Regions from separate parts of the Homo sapiens genome. Here region 2 is linked to region 1. The links are contacts of gene promoters, found by promoter capture Hi-C in blood cells and fetal thymus (Javierre and others, 2016). All regions are on one chromosome and are shown on one strand. Each heading gives the region's core, a stretch centred on a gene start or on the middle of the fragment in contact. The rest is flanking DNA. Distances are from core to core; before and after follow the strand shown.

The links. Contacts are between HindIII fragments. The CHiCAGO score rates a contact against its expected background, and 5 or more counts as called.
Region 2: a contact is called between a fragment that was not itself captured here and the fragment with the promoter of SLC16A2 in region 1, in 1 of 17 cell types (monocytes). The highest score is 5.1, in monocytes.

The regions. Positions count from the first base shown.
Region 1 is chrX:74,420,084-74,422,844 of GRCh38, forward strand. It overlaps SLC16A2 (solute carrier family 16 member 2), which reads left to right and starts at 1,410. Exons shown (of 6, transcript NM_006517.5): 1 at 1,410-1,984. The coding sequence starts at 1,555. It overlaps LOC105373252 (a long non-coding RNA gene), which reads right to left and starts at 565. Exons shown (of 2, transcript XR_007068267.1): 1 at 223-565. The HindIII fragment of the contact is 8,329 bases long and covers 1-2,761 here.
Region 2 is chrX:73,917,435-73,920,195 of GRCh38, forward strand. No RefSeq gene overlaps it. Among named protein-coding and RNA genes, the nearest start is that of JPX, 26 kb to the right of the region's middle. The HindIII fragment of the contact is 2,892 bases long and covers 1-2,761 here.

The sequences.
Region 1 (2,761 bases), core at 160-2,659:
CCGAGTAGCTTGGTAACGACACCACGACTTCACGTTTAGTGCATTAGACGCGTAGACCCTTAGGGGAGGCAGAGCTTCCCGGTATCGCCGAGCGGGCCCTGAGGGCTGAGGCTGGGCACCCCTGCGCACCCCTGCTGAGTGCCCGGCCACCAGAAAGACAGATCCCCCACCTTTCCTTCTCCCTGACCCGGCGCGCTTCCTGGGGAACAAACTCTCCCTTACCCTCAGTGGGGCTGGGGCCTCAGTCTGCGACATACAGTGGGACTCCCATGTCTGCATGCCTGAGGTGGGCGGAAGGGGGCGGTGGGTGCTGGGAAGACATCCGTCCGCTTGCAGCTCCGCTGAGTCTCCAGCACCTGAAAAGCCGCGGCCGAGGCCTGAGGGACCAGCCCAGCCGAGATATCGGGGGCGGGGCAGCCCAATCCCAAACTGGCGGCTGGACCCGACTCCAACTCGTTCCTCCTAAGTCCGGGACAGATTGTCGGGAGGAGCTTGAACTGAGCTTCGGCTCCCGACTGGGCCTGGGCCCGGCCCCCACTGGTGCCACCTCCCTCCCTTCCTGGCCCGGCTCCTGGCCCACACTCGGCCCTGGCCCGGCCCTGGCCCGGCCCAGACCCGGCCCGGCCCTGGCCCGGCCCAGACCCGGCCCTCTGAGGCTCCTCCGGGCTCCAGGTTGGCGCAAACAAAGCCCTGATTGACTGCCCGGAGGGGCGGGCCTCGCTGCATGGCCGCCTCCTCCCCTCCCAGGCCGCCAGGGATTTGCCGGGAAGAGCGGGGGCAGGGGGAGACTCCCGGGGGTGCGCAGGACCGCGGGGGGCCGAGTCCTCGGGCTCGAGAAGATTGTGTCCACCCGCTGTCCGAGGCCCAGGCTGTCCCCTCAGGTCGTCCTCCTCAAGTCCAAGGAGGGACATGGGAGCTCCTGAGGGCAGGGTGGGGTTCCTCGCGGGCCAGCTGTCGTCCTAGGGTCCCCGGTGCCACCTCAGTTGCGGGCTGCTTGTGAGGAAGGAGGGTATGGGAGCAAAAAATAGGAGGGGTCTTCCCGAGGCTCGGGGTTGATCAGTGTCGGTTCTAGAGCCTGCGGGGAAAAGAGGGCAGGAGAACAGGATAGTTTGTGCTTCCTTTTTTCCATTTTAACTTTTCCTCTAACGGGCATCCGGGCAAGAACAGGGTTCAGTAGTTTGGGAAGGGAGCTGGGGGAGGCAGTGGCGGCTGGAGTAGGTAGGCGAGTAAAAGGAGGAGGAAGGGCTGGGGAGAAGAGCGAGGCTGTAGCGGCTGCCTGTTGAGGGAGGAAGAGGTGGGGGGTGTGGAGGAGGGGGAGGAGAGAGAGATGACATGGGGAGAGGAGGAGGGGGGTTGGACGTGGGAGGAGGAGGAGAGGGCTCGAGGGACCGTCTGTCGCGGGACGGGCTGGCCAGCTGGGGCGCGGAGCCTGGAGGAGGAGGCAGCGGCAGCGGCAGCAGCAGCCCTCCGAGCAGCAGCAGCTGCAGCAGCAGAAACAAGTACCAGCCACAAAGCGGCTCCTCTGGCCCAAGCAGCCACAGTCCCCCCGCCGCGATGGCGCTGCAAAGCCAGGCGAGCGAGGAAGCAAAGGGGCCCTGGCAGGAGGCAGACCAGGAACAGCAGGAGCCGGTGGGTAGCCCAGAGCCGGAGTCTGAGCCGGAGCCTGAGCCCGAGCCCGAGCCCGTGCCAGTGCCCCCGCCCGAGCCCCAGCCGGAGCCCCAGCCCCTACCGGACCCCGCACCCCTGCCGGAGCTGGAGTTCGAGTCCGAGCGGGTGCACGAACCCGAGCCCACGCCTACGGTAGAGACCCGCGGCACCGCGCGCGGCTTCCAGCCTCCCGAAGGTGGCTTCGGCTGGGTGGTGGTGTTCGCTGCCACCTGGTGCAACGGCTCCATCTTCGGCATCCATAACTCTGTCGGGATCCTCTACTCCATGCTGCTAGAGGAGGAAAAGGAAAAAAATCGCCAAGTGGAGTTCCAAGCAGGTGAGTGGCCCCGCACGCCCCACTTGGCATTTTGGGCAAGGTTGGCCGCTCCCGCTGCCACCGACCCCATACCTCCCGGTCCGAGGCGCCCCTCCAACGCGCCTCTCCGACTCCTCCCCTTACCCCTTACCCCTTGCCCCTTGCCCCTTTCCATGGCTCTCCTAGGGTGCGGGTTGCGGGGCTTTGGGCAGCTTGGACTGGGGAGACTAGGTGCAAGGCGTCCCGGGGGTACGAACTGGGACATTCATTGATCCTTGGCAAGCAATGGACTTTTTTTTGCCCTGGGACAAATCTAAATGCACCTTTCAGGTTTAAGGTACCTTTGCCCCTGTGTGCTGGGGGAAAATATTTGCAGGACTTTTTTTTTTTTTGGAGGTGGGGAGAAGTCATGAGGAGAGGAGAGAATTGAGAGGCGGGGCGGGCTCTGAGAGAAGCACTGTACCGCTGATCTCCGCAGCAGCCCCCCGGTTCCTTTGGGGAAACGGAGGTGTTTTCTGTTAAAAACACTTTAGGAATCCTGATGACTATGAGCGAAGAGTCAAACACATGGCAGGCGTGCGTGTCTGCAAGAGAGAAAGGGAGGGAGGGAGTTCGAGTCGGGGTGTGAGTGCGTCTCTGGCCGCCGCCGTTACGGCCCAGCTGGGCCCGGCAGTCCTCTGCCGCCCCGCGGGAGTGAATGGATCTCCGTGCCCTATGAGCCGAGCCCCAGAGCGGGCGGGGAGGCGGTCTCCGCAGTCTCCTGCCAGAGAGGCGTGAGGCCGCAGGCAGGCTGGGCCC
Region 2 (2,761 bases), core at 177-2,676, 500 kb before region 1:
CAACAGAGACAGATGAACATTCCTTTCCTTTGTATAAGATGAAGAAAGCCTCTCCAGGAAATGACAAGTGCCCTTGGGAATTTAAGCTCTGCTCTCAAGGCCCTAACAAAAGATAAGAGAGGTTTTATGTCTTGTTTCCCTGAGACATTTGTGAACTGTTATGTGAAGTCACTTACAGGGCAAGGAGACTTCCTACAGCCTCTGAAATAATATTTTGGACAATCTCTAACTTACAAATGCTTGATTCAAAAATGATACTTCCATAAAATTAACTGCCATCTCTTGCTTTCCTCTCTCTTACTTTCCTCTCCCTTCTCAAAGGCCCCCCAGTAACACTGGCAGTTGAGCTATTCAGGAAAAAAAAACAAAAAAAACGATTTTGTAGAAAATCTGTGGGAGAAAGGGACAAAGCTATGATGACCAGAACAGTTTAGGAGACAGGAAGAGGGTAGGTGTATGTTCCCAAATAGGTCTTGCCTGACTATATGATGGCTTTCTGCCCCAAAATATCTTTTCTCACATAGCTTGAATTATTTTCAAAACTTTTTAATTCTGCCTGAAGATATACTATATGGAAACACATTGAGATAAATAAGCACTTTATTTTAATGTATACAAACAACATCTAGGAGGACTAGGGCAGTTACCAGACCCTTGCTTATTGGTGTTGCTTTGCCAAATGAGTGCTCATTGCTTAAAGGCAATTAATCAGCTTACTTTTCCTGATGACACAGTGAATATTAGGATAGCTGAGAAACTGAGAGTTTCAGTTGTGATAGAAAGGGTACTCCACTCTGTGGGGCTTAGCAGACTTCAATGGTGTAAGTAGGCAGAATTCTAAGATGGCCCCACAAGATTATTGAGTCCCTTTCGCATACACACCTTGTTCTGTAGCAGGACGAGCCGCAGACAAAACTCCTCAGACACCGAGTTAAAGAAGGAAGAGGTTTATTCGGCCGGAGGCATCGGCAAGACTCCTGTCTCAAGAGCTGAGCTCCCTGAGTGAGCAATTCCTGTCCCTTTTAAGGGCTCACAACTCTAAGGGGGTGCGCGTGAGAGGGTCGTAATCGATTGAGCAAGCAGCGGGTACGTGCCTGGGGGCTGCATGCACCGGTAATTAGATCAGAACAAAACAGGATAGGGATTTTCACAGTGCTTTTCTATACAATGTCTGTAATCTATAGATAACATAACCGATTAGGTCAGGGGTCCATCTTTAACTACCAGGCCCAGGGTGTGGCACTGGGCTGTCTACTTGTGGATTTCATTTCTGCCTTTTACTTTTTACTTTTTCTTTTTTTGGAGGCAGAAATTGGGCATAAGACAATATGAGGGGTGGTCTCCTCCCTTAGTTCCAGTTATTCAATCAAATGGTAGTATAGGTACTGCTGTGAATGGATTTTTCCAGATGAAATTAAGATGCTAAATCACTTGACTATATAATTGGAAGAGTATCCATCTGGGTGGGTCTGATCTAACCACACAAACTCTTTAAAAGTAGAAAGTTTTCTCCAACTAGTCACAGATGAAGAAGTCAGAGACTTGAAGTATTAGTGGGATTTGATGCTTGAGAAATTCTCTGTTGCTGGTTTGAAAATGGAGAGGGATAGGTGGAAAGGAATATGGGTAGCCTCTTGGAGATGAAAATGGCCACTAATTGACAGCTTGCAAGAAAATGGAAACCTCAGACCTACATATGAAAGGCATTGAATTCTGCCAACAACCCGAATGAGCTTGGAAGAAGACCCTGAGACCCAGATCAGAACTGCAACCCTGGCTGACATCTTCGTTTCAGCCTTGAGACCTCCACAGAGGATCCAGCTAAGCTATGCCAGATTCCTGATCCATAGCAGCTGTGAGCTAATAAATGGCTGTTATTTTAAGCCATTCAGTTTGTATTCTTTTGCCATGCAACAATAGAAACTAATACAAATGTGATCTCCTGGGATGAGCCTGAGGGTATTGGCATTCAAGGGTCTGGGGAGAAGGGCTCTATAAAGCAATGGGCTACCAAAAGCAAACTTACCTATTTGAATATTTTGCTGATGAACTGGCTCTACCCAAGAAGGTGGAAGGTAACTCTCTTCCTTTTTTCTTCCTATGTCTCAGCCCATAAACAACAGGACCTTCTAGCACCCAGCACTTAAATCAGGACTGTGTTTCTAAGGCTCAGTTTTACATGAGTTAAATAGATTTTCACAGTTTGGCTTGAGAATTTAATGTTGTAATGATTAATTTCATGTGTCAGCTTAACTGGATCAATAGGTCTCCAGATATTTGGTTAGACACACTACTGGATGTGTCCATGAGGGTGTTTCCAGATTAGATTAGCATTTCAATCAGTAGACAGAGTGAAGCTGATTGCCCTTCCCCATGTGAATAAGCATCATCCAATTCTTGAGGACATGAACAGAACAAGAAGGTGGAATAAGGGTGAATTTGCAATCTATGACTGACTGCTTGAGGAGGGACATCAGTCTTCTGCACCCAAACTTAGAATTACACCATCAACCACCCTTGCCTTCTCAGGCCTTTGGACTAGGATTGAACTATACCACTGGTTTTCCTGGGTCTCCAGCTTGCAGATGGCAGATCATAGGACTTCTCAGCCTCCATAATCACATGAACCAATTTCTCTCTGTCAATCTCTCTTTCTCTCTCTCCAAGTCCCATGGTTAGCCAACTGCAAGCTGGAGACCCAGGAAAACCAGTTGTCTTGGTTCCATTACTCTGGAGAACCCTGACTACTAAACATGTATAT